Regions from separate parts of the Homo sapiens genome. Here all the other regions are linked to region 1. The links are contacts of gene promoters, found by promoter capture Hi-C in blood cells and fetal thymus (Javierre and others, 2016). All regions are on one chromosome and are shown on one strand. Each heading gives the region's core, a stretch centred on a gene start or on the middle of the fragment in contact. The rest is flanking DNA. Distances are from core to core; before and after follow the strand shown. Region 1 holds the start of DNMBP (dynamin binding protein). Region 2 has its middle 20 kb from the start of ABCC2. Region 3 overlaps ABCC2 (ATP binding cassette subfamily C member 2). Region 4 overlaps ABCC2 (ATP binding cassette subfamily C member 2). Region 5 has its middle 56 kb from the start of DNMBP-AS1. Region 6 overlaps ABCC2 (ATP binding cassette subfamily C member 2).

Region 1 (2,700 bases), core at 145-2,644:
AAAAAAAAACAGTATGGTGGCTTCTCAAAAAATTAAACACAGAATTACCACATGATCCAGCAATTCTTCTGGATATATACCCAAAAGAATTGAAAGTAGGGACTCAGATATTTGTACACCCATGTTCATTGCAGCATTATTCACCATAGCCTAAAGGTACAAACAACCCAAATGTCCACAGAAAGATGGGATAAACCAAAGATGTTATATACGTACAATTGAGTATTATTCAGCCTTCAAAAGGAAGGATATTCTAACGCATGCTACAACATGGGTGAGCCTTGAAGACATTATGCTAGGTGAAAGAAGCCACTCACAAAAGGACAATATTGTATGATCCCACTTATATGAGGTATCCAGAGTAATCATAGAGACAGAAAGTAGAATGATGGTTACCAGGGGCTGGAGAATGAGGAGTTAGTGTTTAATGGGTACAGTTTCAGTTTGGGAAGATGAAAAAGTTCTGGAGCTGGATGGTGGTGATGGTTGCAGAACAATGTCAATGTACTTAATGCCACTGAACTGTACACTTAAAAAGGATTAAAATGGTAAATTTCATGTGATATATATTTAACCACAAGTTTTTAAAAAGCAAAGGGAAGGAGAAACATATACAGCATGGGATGAGATTTGTGAAATATTTATTTTTGTTGTGCATGCACAGTCATAGACTCGCCGCCTTCTTCAGAATCCTCTAGGTAGATTCCAGAAACGTGAGGCGCAGCAATTCCAGCAACATAGCCAAGCTGTGTAACTTCGTGGTCTTTAAACAAACAACGGGAATACTGCGGGGATTCAGAAACTGAGTCGGAGGAGGAGTTCTGACAGCCCTGCCCAGTTCTTGCTTCTGTCATTTCTTGCTCTCAAATTCTCAAAGATGTCCTGAGAGACTTTCCTCAGAAAAAAATGGGACAGATAGAGGCGAACCCCAGCGAGTATTGTGTGGCATAATAAGGGAAACTGCCTCGGGGTAGCAAAGAGGACAGCATCACACGCAGACAGGAATCGACTTGGACTTCTCTGAATGGAATTTTGACTTTTTTCTAGGTTGGAGGGTGGTGTCGGGAGTGGGGGAACAGCAAGAGTGGAGGAACTTGTCCGCAGCCGGGGCTGCACGTAGGACTGCGTGAGGCCGAGGCCCGACGAGCCGTGTCGGCGCGCTGCGGCGGGGGCGGGCCCCCGTGCCTCAGTTTCCCCGGTGGCCGTTCTGGGAGCGACGCCCCTCTGACGTCGCGAGGCGAGCAGGGCCGGGCCGGCCGCCAGGGGGCGCGAGCGCGGGGCGGGCGCCGGAGAGGTGGGCGCGCGGGCAGCGGAGCTTGGCGCCCCCGGGGCCGCGCGGACCGCGCCGGCAGAGGCGGAAGCCTGAGCGGGAGGCGGGGCGGCGCGCTGACTCACACGGGATCGACCCGCCCGCCGCTTCCAGGGGCGGAGGTGACAGCGGGCTGGGGACTGGCGGCTGCAACTGCCTGCCGCGCCGAGGGACCGCCGGGCGGCGGAAAGCAGGTCAGAGGCCGGGCCAGGCCGGAGCCGGGCGGGGGCCGGGCGGGGAGCGGGGGTCGCGGTCCGGGGCCGCGGGCGGAGGGGACCCGCACCCCGAGAGACGCGCCGCGCCGCGCCGCGCGGCTAGGCCTGTATCGGCCCTTTCCCAGCGGCGGCGCTGTGCTGCGCTCTGTGGGCCAGGAGCCCGCGAGGGACAGTGGGGCGCAGCGGGCCCCCTCGCACTCCTGTAGTCCCCGGGAGTTGGAGGGGTGGTCAGAGCAATGCGAACGTGGGCTTTTCAAGCGGTGTCAAGCCCAGGGCTCTTTCTCTGCACCGCCCTGCCACTCCGGCAATGAGGCGGAATTTTGAGAGCTGGAAAAAGAATTCTGCGTTAGTCCACCCCGCTGATTTTACAGATGTTCGGAGCCTTACGGCATAGGAGGCCGTGATTCTGTGTCAGGGAGACAGGGACAGATGGCTTCCGAAGCAAGGGTTAGACCTGTTCAGCTGGAGATGCAGCTTTGGTCATGGTGGAGTTTTGCAGAAACCCGCGGACACCCGCGTTCCTGCTGCAGGCACAGATGTCCACCGGGCATCTGTGTCTCAAAGGGTGGTGATGCTGTCACTTTAGTAAAGGAATATTGAGGTTACCAAACAGGCCGGGGCCTGATGCAGATGAGGAGTATAGACTTAAATTTTAAGTGCAAAAACAACTTTAAATGCAGTCTCATTATTACTGCCTGTCTCATTTGTACTGTAATGAAGGGTGAATATTTTTGGCACTCACTTATTCTGGAATATGGGTAACTTGCCTTTAGGTCTGTTTTATAGTAATTCTTTTACACAAACATGAAGATCTTGTATTAAAACACTTTCATAACTAATGATGCTGTAGTATGTGGCAGGCGAGTGGTAACGCTAATATTTAGGGTTTGAGCATAGTCTAGCTCTGCTTGTTTACATAGCTGAGTTAAACGGATGAGCAGGACTGATTAATCTGTAGTAGTTTTTGCAAGACTGAAGTACCTGACAGCATTCGGGGATCATTTCTCAGTTGGTGTTCCGTTTATTACTTTCACAGCATGAATACCGACACGGTGATCAGCAAGTTAGTTTATCCTCTACCCATTTTTCTCTAAAATATTGAATTAAAGGATCTCTAAGGTCCTCTTCTGTCTCGAGTTCTCCGATTTTACATGTTAACTTGAAACACGTCACTCA
Region 2 (2,700 bases), core at 47-2,546, 250 kb after region 1:
CTAAAAGGTTTTTTAGTTCTTAAATTTAGGTTATGACCCTTTGAGTTAATTTTTGCATTTGGTGTAAGGTAAGGGTCCAACTTTATTCTTTTGCATGTGGATATCCAGTTGTCTAAGCATCATTTGTTAAAAAGACCATTCTTTCCCCCACTGAATTGTCTTGGAATCCTAGTCAAAAATCAATGGACTATAATGTAAGTGCTTATTTCTGGACTTTCAATTGTATCCTATTGAGCTATATAATTATCTTTATGCCAGTACTACATGGCCTTGATTACCATAGCTTTGTAGTAAGTTTTGAAATCAGGAAGTATGTCATCAAATGTTGTTCTTCTTTTTCAAGATTTTCTGGCTATCCTGGGGCATTTGCGTTTCCAGATGGATTTTAGGATCAATTTGTCAACTTTTACACAAAAAGGCAGTTGGAATTCTGCTAGCAATTACATTGACTCCGTAGATCAATTGAAGAGTGTTGGAATCTTAAAAGTAGTAAGTTTACCAATCTATGAACATGGGATGTCTTTCCATTTATTTCTTCATTGTTAAGTCTTTTAAAATTTCTTTCAACAATGTTTTGTAGTTTTCAGTATACTGTCTTACACTTTTTTTTTTTTTTTTTGAGACTGAGCCTTGCTCTGTTGCCTGGGCTGGAGTGCAGTGGTGCGATCTTGGCTCACTGCAACCTCTGCCTCCCAGGTTCAAGTGATTCTCTTTTCTTAGCCTCCCAAGTAGCTGGGATTACAGGTGCCCACCACCACACCTGGCTAATTTTTGTATTTTTAATACAGACAGAGTTTCACCATGTTGGCCAGACTGGTCTGGAACTCCTGACCTCACATCATCCACCCGTCGCGGCCTCCCAGAGTGCTGGGGTTACAGGTGTGAGCCACTGCATCTGGCCTGTCTTACGCTTCTTTGATTACATTTATTCCTAAGCATTTTATCTTTTTGATGCTATTATAAACTGAACTTTTATTAACTGCATTTTAGGATTGTTTGTTGCTAGTGTAAAGCAATACAATTTATTTCATATACTGATCTTTCCGAGAGTAGGAAAACTCAAAGTGTTTTTTCTATTCTCACAACAATCAACACAGAGGACTTTTATGACCAAATGTGGGGAGTGAGGGTCTCCCTGACACACACCAAGCAAGCAATCACTTCTGCAGCAGACACCAGCTCGGTGTACTCTAATTCAATCTCAACATTATCTACCTGAAGATAGCATCAGATCCCACAGGTTGAGGGCTCAGTCCCCAAGACTGTCCCCCAACTTCCCACTCCTCACCAGCCAACTTCCAACATCAATTGCAAGCCCCAGATTATTTTGCCTGTGCTTGTCACCGACCAACTATAAATCTGAATTCCCACAACCCCCTCCTCAGGTTTGATTGATTTGTTGGAGTAGCTAACGGAACTCAGGGAAACATGTTTAATACAATAAACATGTTTATTATAGTTTTTTTTTTTTTTTTTTTTTTGATACAGAGTCACTCCATCACCCAGGCTGGAGTGCAATGGCGCGATCTCAGCTTTCTGCAACCTCCACCTCCCAGGTTCAAACTATTCTCCTATCTCAGCCTCCTGAGTGGCTGTGATTATAGGTGCGTGCCACCACACTTGGCTAATTTTTTTTACTTTTTAAATTTTTACTAGAGACGGGGTTTTGCCATGTTAGCCAGGCTGGTCTTGAACTCCTGATCTCAAGTGATCCACCCGCCTTGGCCTCCCAAAGTGCTGGGATTGCAGGCATGAGCCACCATGCCCAGCCTACAGGGGCTTTTTTTTTTCTTTTCAACTTGTACTCTTCAGGGGATACATGTGCAGATTTGTTACAAAGATATATTGCAAGACGCTGAGGTTTGGAGTATCACTAAACCCATCACCCAGGTAGTTGGCATAGTACCCAATAGGTAGTTTTTCAGCCCTTCCCTCTTTCCTTCTCTCCCCACTCTAGTAGTCCTCAGTGTCTATTGCTCCCGTCTTTGTCCATATGTAGCCAATGTTTCGCTCCCACTTATAAGTGAGAACATGGGGTATTTGGTTTTCTGTCTGCATCAGTTTGCCACAAAAAAATGCCACAAAACACATTTATCAGTAAGGAAAAAATGCCACAAAACACATTAGTAAGGAAGAGAATCGAGCATCAAGATTTAAGGCAGAAAGGGAAAAGCTAACTCTACTGTTTTGTGCAAATGCAGTCAGGTTTATTATTAGGACAGCCCTTGTCTATATAGCAGCTAACCCCTGAGCCTTCAAAGGAAAAGATAAACACCAGCTGCCAGTCTTTTGACTGTACAAGAGGGCCTGGACAATCAGAACCCTTTTTCTGGATTGGTCCAATCAATGATGTTGTGGTTAGGATATACTGGCACCAGGCTTCTTGTACAGGCTGCAGAACTGTGAGCCAAATAAAATTTCTTTTCAAGTTACAAAGCCTCAGGCATTTATAGCAACACAAATGAACTAAGGAAGACAACTGGTACCAAGGAGAGGGTGGTTGCTATAAAGATACTTGAAAATGTGGAAGTGGCTTTGGAACTGGGTAATGGGCAAAAGTTGGAAGAGTTTAGAAGGCTCAGAAGAAAACAGGAAGATAAGGGAAAGTTTGGGATTTATTAGACTGTGTGAGCGGTTGTGGCCAAAGTGCTGACAGAAATACAGACAGTAAAGGCCACGCCTTTCTAAGCAGCAAAGCGT
Region 3 (2,700 bases), core at 34-2,533, 210 kb after region 1:
CATTTTTTGGGTCCTTATTCAATCTAACCAACAGCAAAACAAACAAAAGGCACATATGAGGCAACTGGAGAACTTTGATGGTATCAAAGAATGTTAATTTTTTTTGTAGGTATGATACTGGTATTGTGGCTATATTTTTAAAATAAATCCTTCTTTTAGAGCTACATACACAGCATTTATGAATGAAATGACAAGATCTCTGAGATTTGCTTTAAAATAATCTAGCAAGTGTGAGGGGTGTGGGTTTATAGATGAAACTAGTTAGGTCATGCTGATAATTCCTGGAGCTGGGTGAAAAGTTTGTAGGGGTTCATGATAGTCTCTACTTTTCTACATGTTTAAACACTTCTACAGTAAAGTGTCAAAACAAAACAAGCTATTTAGGGTGAATAAATAGAAATTGGGGTTCAACGGAGGACCTGAGAGGGACAGGAGGACATGAAACAAAAGTCATGTGACACAACCGGCCCAGAAGCAGGAATCCATCACCTCTACCAGGGTTTGCAAAGGCCAAGAGAGCCACTGCTTCTGTCCTTACCCACAGAGAGCCACCTACGCTCAGATTCTCACCTTGATTCCACTAAGAATCTCATTCATGATCTTTAAACGTTTGTCTTTATTCTTCATATTTTTGACCTGCCAGGAAAAAAGCAAAAGAAAAACAATATACGCTTCCATGAGAGAGGGCTCAGGTTTGCTGCAGACATCAGGCCTCACTGCTACTTTGTGGCTGTCACTTAGTAAGAACTTGAGGTGCCCAGTGATGGGATTCACCTCCCTCCACTCTCCTCTTTGCCCACTCTGCTCCTGCCGCACCCATCTTCTTTCTGATCCTTGCTTGTTCCAAGCTTGTTTCTGTCCCATAGCCCTTGCCTGACTGTACCCACCTCCCAGGCTGTTCTTTCCCTGCCCTTCCCAAGGCTTTCTCCTTTACAGTCAGGCTTGTATCATTCAGAGTTCAGCTTAAATGTCCACTCCCCAAGAGGCCTTCCCTGAACTCATTGAAAATAACCACCCACTCACTCACTATCTCATCACCCTGTTGAATTCTCTGTATAATACTTATCATGATCTGATATTTTTCTTCTTTGTGTATTGCCTGTCTCTCCACCACCCTACCAGGTAGAATGTAAGATCCATGAGAACAGGAGCCCTAACTCACTGCTGTGTTCTCAGAGAAGTAAGATATGTAAGAAATATTTTCAAAACAATTATTTGTAACTTGAATGCAAAACAAATGAGTGAATAAATCATATACACTGTCAAGTCCACCCACCCAACCTGTGACTTCTGGCAGGACTGAGGACACTGTCCACACGGAGCCCTCCCACCTGGTGGTAGCGGGGTGATTGCCAAGGCTCAGGCTGAAATTTGGATCACTCATGCGACTGCTCTCTGTGGTTGGTTTAGATTGCCATAATGGAGAAGCAGGGCCCCAAATCCCTGTTCTTAGGGCAGCCCAGCAGAGCAAGATGGAAGAATTATGTGCAGCATCTCTGGGGTAGCCCTTCCTTCCCCAGTCAGGCTCTTCCCTCTAACATGAATGCAGAGGAGTATATATAAACCCTAAGAGTCATCAGAAGATGAAAAGGGAACTCAGAGACAGCTAAGTACAATTGAGATGGTAGAAAGTCTTCCACCAGCTTTGCCTTGCCCAAACTCCCATTAAGAATTAGAGTAGAGTAAGAAAAAGGGTTTACACTTTAAAGAAAGCTTATATTCTTCTGGGTGACTTTTTCTTTACCTGAATGGTCTTACTCTTGGTGGACAGTATCGCATTAATTGGGATTACAAGCACCATCACCCCAACACCTGCTAAGACTGAGGGTCCCAACTCTCTCCATAGGAAGAAGATAGATAAGACAATCTGTAGAACACTTGACCACAGCATGTGCATGAAGTTGGTCACATCCATGAGCTTCTGGGCATCCACAGACATCAGGTTCACTGTTTCTCCAACGGTGTACTCCTTCCTGGCCAAGTTGGATAGGGTCAATGCCTAAAGATAAGGATTGAAATTAGGACCCATGGACAAAGCCAAGGATACTAGGGAGTAGAAGAGGAAGCTCAGGAAGTGAGATTACAATGGAAGGATGTGCTCCATATGGACACAGCTTCTCCAAGGCACTGTGACTTCTTGCCTCCAAATCTTACACATGGTATTCTCTCATTCTTGACCACTCTTTCCTCTTATTCCCACCTTCCTCCAACTCTACCCATCCACACACTTCTTTGCCCAGAAAACTCCTATTTATCCTTTGGTGTCAGCTGAGATGTAACTTCTTATAAGAAAACCACCGTGACTACCAAGTTGGGGTTAGATATTCGTCCTGTGTACTCTCATAATATCCTGAGCTTACCTTTGTCATTACATTCATCACAATGAACCATAATTACTTTGTTTTTTTCTGTTTCTCCACTAGATGTAAACTCTGTGAGGATGAGGGCAACATCTGTCTATTTCACTACTATATTATGTGGCACATAGTAGAGAATCAAATACTGAGGGATGGAAGAAAAGGAGGGATGGATGGATGGAAGGAGAGAGGGAGGAAGGGAAGGAGGAAAGGGAGAAGGGAAGGAGGGAACCAGCATGTATTGATTTTGACCTCAGAGGCTTTTGATGTGGCAATGTTATTTGGAGTCATACTCTTATGAAGAGGTTGCAATCATTCCCAAGAAGGACAGAGAATTTAGAAT
Region 4 (2,700 bases), core at 196-2,695, 160 kb after region 1:
ACTGTGCAGTGGGCGAACTCGTTTTGGATGGTCGTCTGAATGAGGTTGTCTGTCTCTAGATCCACCGCAGCAGTGGCCTCATCCAGGACCAGGATCTTGGATTTCCGAAGCAGAGCCCTGCCCAGGCACAGCAGCTGCCTCTGGCCTATGCTGCAGCCAATAGAAGCAACCATGTGTTAGCTCCTAAAGACCAAGGAAAGACGCAGGGCAGGGGGACCATTTTCATGTTCCAGATCAGACTTTCAAAACCCCCCCTCCAAAATTCCCCTGGAATGTTTGGGCCTCTTCAACTAGCTGTACCTTGCTGCTGTGAGCATCGTTTTTCAAACTTTCCCAATTGAAGACCCACCCCAAGTACTTAATTAAAAAGTCATATTTCTGGGCCCTTGCTTTGCTCAATCAGAGCGGGCAGGAGCCTAGGAAGGTGCCTTTTTACTAAGCACCCCAGGCCATTTTTATGCTTAAACAAGTTTGGATAACAATGGCCCAGGAACCATGCTTTGTATTTGGTTGCCGTGACATCAACATTTCCAAAACAACATGAGTGTCACCAAGTTTACGTTAGCAGCATTTGACCTGAAGCCATTAATATAGGGTGGAGCAACACTAGAATGCCCCAGTGGCATTTCTTTGTGGCCTTAGCAAATCAATTTATTATTTTAATGTGTAATTCTAGCCTCAAGGCTAATTATTTGTTCAAGGCCTTCTGCTTTGATTAGAGATGAAGCTGTCTAATGAACGTGATGTCTTGGTGTGAGATGCAATGTATGTGGAATTCAAATATGCTTCTAAAATGCAAATAGCTTTAATTTGCTAAAAGCCTGTAATGAAGGCTGGACCTCTTACCTAACATAAAGAAGCTTTGGGAAATGATGTGAAGGAAATATTCAGGAATTTGCTAATTGCTCTTTCCTGCTGTGGCCATTAGGGAACATATTAAACAGGGGGTGGCCAAAGTGCTGTAATTCTCTGTAAGAAAATTTCTGCAGGAGATGAGAAGTCACCCAAGATGAACTTCCAGTTTTCCCCTGTAATGTAAGATCAGAGACACTGAAAAACTATTTACTTAGCTTGTACCAAACTCCTGCCTGGCCCAAAGTGTAACGTAGACTTTGGACTTTAGAGTAACAGACTGTTGCTGAGGCGCCACTTTGTCTTTCAGCTGCTCTCTCCAAGCTGAACTTACCCATCATTCAACAGAGAAATGTAAGTTTTAGTCCCCCAGGCCAGGTTTGAAACTCAGGTCTGAAATCAAGGCATTGGTAATACCATTTAAGCATCTCTCAGCTTGGACAGGAGAAAGATGGCATGATTTTTGTTTTTACAAACCAGAAATGTCAAGGCCTCCCATTGTACCCTACCATAGCATCCCAAATGTACCCTCTGTAGCACAGACTGTACTGGCATTTACTGACAGAGGTCTGTCTTCATTATGCTGTAAATGCTAGGAAGTCAGGGTTGTGTCTCTGTTTGCCTCTGTATTTTCAGTACCTGGCACACAGTAGGTGTACATATATTTTCGAGACGGAGTTTCGCTCTTGTCTCCCAGGCTGGAGTGCAATGGCGCAATCTCAGCTCACCACAACCTCCGCCACCCGGGTTCAAGCGATTCTCCTGCCTCAGCCTCCTGAGGGATTACTGCTGGGATTACAGGCCTGTGCCACCATGCCCCACTAATTTTGTATGTTTAGTAGAGATGGGGTGTCTCCACGTTGGTCAGGCTGGTCTCGAGCTCCCGACCTCAGGTGATCCGGCTGCCTCGGCCTCCCAAAGTGCTGGGATTACAGGCATGAGCCACTGCGCCCGGCCGGTGTTATTACATTTTTGCTGACTGAATGTTTGAATGATCTTTTACACTGGCCTAAAGACCTACTTGAGTCCTGCTAGTTGCTAGATCTGTTGTGGAGGGAAAGTAAACTGACGATGTTCTCTACCAGGGCTTGTTCCCTGGGGCTACACACTAAAATCACCTGGGTCCCCGATTCAGTTGGTCTGGGCTACAGTTTAGGCGTTGGGAGCTTTAAAGCTTCCTGGGTGATTTTAGCTTGCAGCCTAGTTAATCACAACACTCTAGGCAGTGCTTCTCAAGTGTAATGTGCACACAAATCACCTGGGAATCTTGCTAAAGTGCGGATTCTGATGAGTAGGTCTACGCCCTGAGATTCTGCACATGTAACAAGCTCCCAGGTGAAGCCAGAGTGGCTGGCCCCTGAATCAGTTACTGAGCCCTCCCTTCCTTCCTGAGCTTCAACTTGCCAACGGCCTATTCCCTGCCTACCACCACTGAGGCCCCTGGGGCAGGAGCAAGACCTGTCCATGAGCAGTGGGCTTTGGCTGAGGGCAGAACTTCAGTGTGTGGAAGGAAAAACAAAAATGTTACAGGAAAAATGCCAGATCAACTTATTAATGGACAGGCAAACATACACTGAAGGCCAGAAGTGAACTGTCAATTATATAAAAATGTTTTGGAAAGGTTAAAAATAACTGTGAAAGCCAAGAGAGTCTTTTGTTGATTTCAGGTGTTTCAACAGTGCCTACGGATTTTACAGATGTCACGTTCCCTGTCATCCGCATGCTCTTTAGATCAGTGGTTCTTTAACTGCGATGCCCTTAACAGCCTCGTGGGGATCCTTTAAAACTCCCTATGTCCAGTCTAGCCTCAAACAATTAAATCAGACTCTAGGATTGGACCAGGCAGCC
Region 5 (2,700 bases), core at 71-2,570, 140 kb after region 1:
TGACTCATGCTCAGAGGATAAGAAACTCAACCAGGTTTACCCAGATAGAAATAGTAAGACTCAGATTTCAATCCCAGCCCTGAGAGCAAAGCTCATGTATTTAACCCTTTGCTATATACCCACTTGAGAACACACCAGCTCATGTGTACAACCAAAAGGACTTTGGCCCTAAGCCATTGAATGGCCCTTCCTAGTCAGTTCTGTGGGAGCCTTCATCAAAAGAGGACACTGGCCCTTTAAAGGAAGGATTGAATAGCAGTAAGAGTCTAAGCCAGTCTCCATTGCTTTAGGTCAATGTGGAAACAACACATAACCTTCAACTCTCCTCCAGGGCCTGGTCTACATAGAGCTGTCTGGAGTCCTGCCCTGGCTGCCTCTGTTCCTGAACCTTTGGATTTCTTGGAATTCTAATCCTCTAAATCCAGTCTTTTGACTGAACCATTTGGAAATTGAGGCCTGCATGGCAGTAGGGAGTACCCTCACCCCCAGAGGTAACAACTCTTTAGGAAATTTCCAAAATACACCTAGTACCAGTAAATAACCTGCCTGGTTCCCTAATCTTTCCTTCACCATGTAGAGGCTTCTGGATAATTTTGGTCCTCAGTTCACTATTGGGAGTCTTCTATAGCATCTGCTCCAAGTTAAGAAGATTCGCACACTGATCCTAAAATTCATATGGAAACGCAAGGGACCCAGAGTAGCCAAAACAATCTTGAAAAAAGGAACAAGATATAAAACTACAATAAGTAAGACTATGTGAGACTGACATAAGATAGACATAGATTGAGGGTCTAAAACTTTGGCCAGGCACAGCAGGTCACACCTATAACCCCAACACTTTGTGAGGCTGAGGTAGAAGGATTGCTTGAGCCCAGAATTCGAGACCAACCTAGGCAACATGGTGAAATTCCATTTCTACAAAAATACAAAACTTAGTTGGGCATGGTGGTGCACACCTGTAATTCCAGCTACTTGAGAGGCGAAGTAGGAAGATTATTTGAGCCTGGGAGGTTGGGGCTGCAGTGAACAGTGAACATGCTACTGCACTCCAGCCTGGTGACAGCGTGAGACCTCGTCTCAAAAAACATAAAAATAAACCTTTACATGTATTGTCAAATATGAATTGACCAAGGTGTCAGAACAACTTAATGGGGAAACAACCATCTTTTGCACAGATGGTGCCAGGACAACTGGATATCCACATGCAGGAGAATGAAGTTAGACCGCTTCCTAAACCACACACGAAAATTCACTCCAAATGGAGCATAGACCTAAATGTAAGAGTTAGAACTACACAATTCTTAAAATGGGAAAAAGTTCTCACAACCTTGGATTAGGCTTTAGTTTCTTCAAATGACAACAAAAGTGACCAAAAAAAAAAAAAAACCAGATAAATTAGACCTCATCAAAATGGAAAACTTTTGTGCTTATAATGCCATTGGCCAGGCATGATGGCTCACACCTATAACCGCAGCACCTTGGGAGGCCAAGGCAGGATTTCTTGAGCCCAGGAATCTGAGACCAGCCTGGGCAACACAGGTAGAACTCGTCTCTACAAAAAATTTTTTTCAATTAGCCAGGCATGGTGGTGTAGTCCCAGCTACTTGGGAAGCTGAGGTGGGAGGATTGCTTGAGCCCAGGACGTAGCAACTGCAGTGAGCCATGATTGTGCCACTGCACTCCAGCCTGGGTGACAGAGCAAGACCCCATCTAAAAACAACCAAACAAAACAAGAAACACACTATCAAAGTGAAAAGACAACCCACAGAATAAGAAAAATATATTTCAACTCATACGTCTGATAAGAGAATTGTATCCGGAATATATAAAGAAGTCTTATAACTCATTGAAAAGAAAATAAACACCCAATTTAAAATTGGGCAAAGGGACCAGGCCTGTTAGCTCACACCTATAATCCCAGCACTGCGTGAGGCTGAGGTGGGAGGACTGCTTTAGCCCAGGAGTTCAAGACCAGCCTGGGCAACATAGAGAGAACCCACCTCTGCCAAAAATAATAATAATTAGCTGGGAGTGGTGGTGCCTGCCTGTCTGTGGTCCCAGCTACTTGGGAGGCTGAGGTGGGAGGCTTCTGGCTTGAGCCCAGGAGGCTGACGCTGCAGTGAGCTATAATTGAGCTACTATACTCCAGTCTGAGTAAGAGTGAGACCTTGTCTTAAAAGAAAAAAAAAAAAAAGCTCAATATCACTAACCAGATAAATGCAAATTGAAACCACAATGAGATATCATCTCACCACAGTTAAAATGGCTTTTATAAAAAAAGACAAGAAAGAGGGGAGGGGCCAAGATAGAATAGGAAGAGCTCTGGTCTGCAGCTCCCAGTGAGACCAATGCAGAAGGCGGGCGATTTCTGCATTTACAACTGAGATACCCAGTTCATCTCACGGGGGTTAGGCTGTGGGTACAACCCATGGAGGGTGAGCAGAAGCAGAGTGGGGCGTCGCTTCACCCCAGAAACTCAAGGAGCCAGGGGACCTCCCTCCCCCAGCCAAGGGAAGCCGTGAGGGACTGTGCTACCCAGCCCGGATACTACCCTTTTCCCTTGGTTTTTGTAATCTGCAGATCAGGAGATTCCCTCATGTGATAACACCATCAGGGCCCTAGGTTTCAAACACAAAACTGGGTGGGTGTTTGGGCAGACATTGAACTAGCTGCAAGAGTTTTTTTCATACCCCAGTGGCG
Region 6 (2,700 bases), core at 186-2,685, 180 kb after region 1:
GGAAAGCTCTGAATCATGGATGACTCCTGAGTCTAACCTACCTTTCCCAAAGTCCTATCAGAATGCAAATAACTATACCCACAGTTGGCAGAGAAAAGAAATCCCTACCAGTTATCAGTTCTATGCAGATTACTTTTGATCCTTACCTGGCACAGAGTCTCCATCTTTCCTTCCTCCACTCCATCTCCTCTTAACTCAGCCATTGATCCCAGAGGCCCCTTGATCAAACTCCCCTTAATAGGTCTGAGCCACCTCCCCAACGAAACATACTATATAATTAATGACAGTTTCCTTTCTCATGCAAAAGCAGTCTTCAAACTATGACTGTTGCCTAAGTAACTCACAGAAAACCTCTGTGTTCTCTTTCCCAGAAGATTATATATATTACAACATGGGGAAAACTGTGATCTTTACAAAATTACTATGAGAAATTTCTCACCCAAAATTGAGTGTTCTTTTAGGTTCTAGTAAAGAGCAGAAAGGCCATTGAAGTTGTCTCTAGTGACATCATGCCCACTGTTTCTGCCCCAGAGGAAGATGACACAGGGGGACCAGTTAATGGCCCACTTTTGAAGCAGTTACTGTGTCCCCAGAACCTGGCTGTGGACTGTGAGCTATACTTTCTATGTCTGCCCCAAGACCAACAAACAAGAGTCCAGAGCTGCTCCATAAGCACAGGGCTAAAAACTGTGCTGGTGATAGTTACTTATCATTCAGAATTGCCTGATCTCTGCCTCTGTTCCTGAATTCCCATCTCAGATACACTAAAAAATCAGTGAGTTGGGTCTGGCCCATGGAAGAGAGACATCTATGATCTTCACATTCATTGAGTGCCCCAGTGTCTAGTACAGTAGTTGGCTCATAGAAAGTGCTCAATAACGGTTGTTGAATGAATGAATGAGTGAATGCCAAGGGGTCCAGGATCTGTGGTAGATGGAAACAATATTTGAGAACTTTTTAAAATCACTGATGGCTCTATTCCATAGTCCAGACCAAATTTACTCATTCTTAAAGCATTCAAGATAGAAGTTTCAGGAATGGAGGCAGAGGCCAAGCAAAGGGTTATCCTACTATCTCTTGTATTTCCTGTCCCAGGCTGTGACAGTGCTTTTATTTATGTTCCTTCCTCTGCAGAATAATCCTTCTCACCCTGCTCTACTGCCATCCCCCAACCCTTGCCATCTCCCTGGCTTGCTTCTATGACTTAAGTTTCACCTTTTCTGACATTTCCCACCTTTATCACGCAGGCTGGGCTAGTGCCTTTTTTTCCTTTGTACTCCCAGACCACCTTTCTACACACTGCTGTTACTGGTTTTACTATATTCTATTATAATCCTTCACTTCTTTGGTTGTCTTCTTCACTAGATGCTGAGCTACTTGAAGGGTCAGAGATGTTCATCCCTCAATCTCCAGGATTCTTGGGAGCTCACAGCAGGTACTCAAGAAACACTTGCATGTTGAGTGACAAAAGAACTGGAACTGAACAGTGTTGTCTAGGGGGACATAATAATTCCTCCCTATCAGAAAGATCCTCAGTATATAAACACACCACCTGACAGTTCTTGAGATACTTACGCCGGCAAACCTGTTCACAATCCGGCCTGTGGGTGTTGTGTCAAAAAATCTCATAGGTGCTCGAAGGATATTGTTCAGCAGTTGCTTGTGCAAGATATTTGATGCATGGACGAAACCAAAGGCACTCCAGAAATGTGCTATGAACACAAATATACCTAGAGATGGAAGCAGTTTTGTCAGCACCATGCACAGGAATCCCTGAAGACTTGTGCCCAGGACATAATGGCAAATGCATTCCTGAGTCCAGGAAAAGTACAGGGTCCAGACAGATTCTGTAAGATGTCATAGCCATCAGACATACCTTGGGCTAATCCCAGAGCTCCGTAGACTCCAACTCTCATGTCCCTCTGAGATGCTGGATAGTCGGTGCTATTGAAGATTTTAGAGTCACTGGTCCAAGCACTGAGCCAGAGGTTGGATCCAATAAAAGCCACAGAATTCATCACAAACGCAAGGATGATGAAGAATATCGAAAACAATCCTATTGCTTGTAGGTACTCCAGGTAGATGGAGAACTTCACCTGCAAAGTCCCCACCTCAATATTAGTAGAACTCCCTAATGGCTTTTGATAAGGAATCACCTAGAATGCCAACCACAAGGAGAAGTGGAGTCCCCTGGGAGCATGGGTAGCAGGTAGCAAAATTTGGTAGTCTGTGGTCACCATTTCTGCACTGTGCCAGGAAGGATAATAGAACAATGCTGAAATACAATGCAGGGTAAATAATCATCAAAGCTAAAGGCATTTAAGAGGAGAAGATATAAAAACAGATTGGGACAAGCCAGACATGATAGCATGCCCCTGTAGTCCCAGCTACTCAGAAGGCTGGTGTGGGAGGATCTCTTGAGCCCTGAGGTTTTAGTCCAGCCTGGGCAACATAGTGAGACCCTGTATCTAAAATAAACACACAAACAAAAAATCAGAGTGGAACAGATGATGGGGTTCTACTGCCGACCTTGAAATTTGTGGTTAAATTTCATTAATTTGAATTATGTGCTCTAGGTCTGAGTTTTCCTGTTCCTCCACACATCAGAATGGAATCAAACACTCATGAAGTGTAGGATGAGGACATTCACAGGAAACATAGCATTCTTTATGGAAATATGACTTGGTAGAAAGCCCACAG

Evidence for each region. The method cuts DNA at HindIII sites, captures the fragments that hold promoters and counts their contacts. A CHiCAGO score of 5 or more calls a contact.
Region 2: a fragment that was not itself captured here is called in contact with the fragment with the promoter of DNMBP in region 1 in 1 of 17 cell types (monocytes); the score reaches 5.2 in monocytes.
Region 3: a contact is called between a fragment that was not itself captured here and the fragment with the promoter of DNMBP in region 1, in 3 of 17 cell types (M1 macrophages, M2 macrophages and naive CD8 T cells). The highest score is 5.4, in M1 macrophages.
Region 4: a contact is called between a fragment that was not itself captured here and the fragment with the promoter of DNMBP in region 1, in 16 of 17 cell types (naive CD8 T cells, total CD8 T cells, activated CD4 T cells and 13 more). The highest score is 12.5, in naive CD8 T cells.
Region 5: a contact is called between a fragment that was not itself captured here and the fragment with the promoter of DNMBP in region 1, in 1 of 17 cell types (naive CD8 T cells). The highest score is 5.3, in naive CD8 T cells.
Region 6: a fragment that was not itself captured here is called in contact with the fragment with the promoter of DNMBP in region 1 in 13 of 17 cell types (naive CD8 T cells, naive CD4 T cells, activated CD4 T cells and 10 more); the score reaches 8.6 in naive CD8 T cells.

Annotation. Positions count from the first base shown.
Region 1 is chr10:100,008,641-100,011,340 of GRCh38, reverse strand. It overlaps DNMBP (dynamin binding protein), which reads left to right and starts at 1,394. Exons shown (of 17, transcript NM_015221.4): 1 at 1,394-1,503. RefSeq lists a silencer at 1,102-1,621. The HindIII fragment of the contact is 18,497 bases long and covers 1-2,700 here.
Region 2 is chr10:99,761,235-99,763,934 of GRCh38, reverse strand. No RefSeq gene overlaps it. Among named protein-coding and RNA genes, the nearest start is that of ABCC2, 20 kb to the left of the region's middle. RefSeq lists a silencer at 2,536-2,700. The HindIII fragment of the contact is 6,331 bases long and covers 1-2,700 here.
Region 3 is chr10:99,803,318-99,806,017 of GRCh38, reverse strand. It overlaps ABCC2 (ATP binding cassette subfamily C member 2), which reads right to left. Exons shown (of 32, transcript NM_000392.5): 10 at 1,745-1,999; 11 at 571-636. Among named protein-coding and RNA genes, the nearest start is that of ABCC2, 22 kb to the right of the region's middle. The HindIII fragment of the contact is 865 bases long and covers 851-1,715 here.
Region 4 is chr10:99,848,052-99,850,751 of GRCh38, reverse strand. It overlaps ABCC2 (ATP binding cassette subfamily C member 2), which reads right to left. Exons shown (of 32, transcript NM_000392.5): 31 at 1-150. Among named protein-coding and RNA genes, the nearest start is that of ABCC2, 67 kb to the right of the region's middle. RefSeq lists a silencer at 366-660 and an enhancer at 206-886. The HindIII fragment of the contact is 1,166 bases long and covers 863-2,028 here.
Region 5 is chr10:99,870,027-99,872,726 of GRCh38, reverse strand. No RefSeq gene overlaps it. Among named protein-coding and RNA genes, the nearest start is that of DNMBP-AS1, 56 kb to the left of the region's middle. RefSeq lists an enhancer at 2,265-2,414. The HindIII fragment of the contact is 3,129 bases long and covers 1-2,700 here.
Region 6 is chr10:99,831,007-99,833,706 of GRCh38, reverse strand. ABCC2 (ATP binding cassette subfamily C member 2) reads right to left here. Exons shown (of 32, transcript NM_000392.5): 22 at 1,877-2,096; 23 at 1,576-1,730. Among named protein-coding and RNA genes, the nearest start is that of ABCC2, 50 kb to the right of the region's middle. RefSeq lists an enhancer at 2,517-2,700. The HindIII fragment of the contact is 3,144 bases long and covers 1-2,700 here.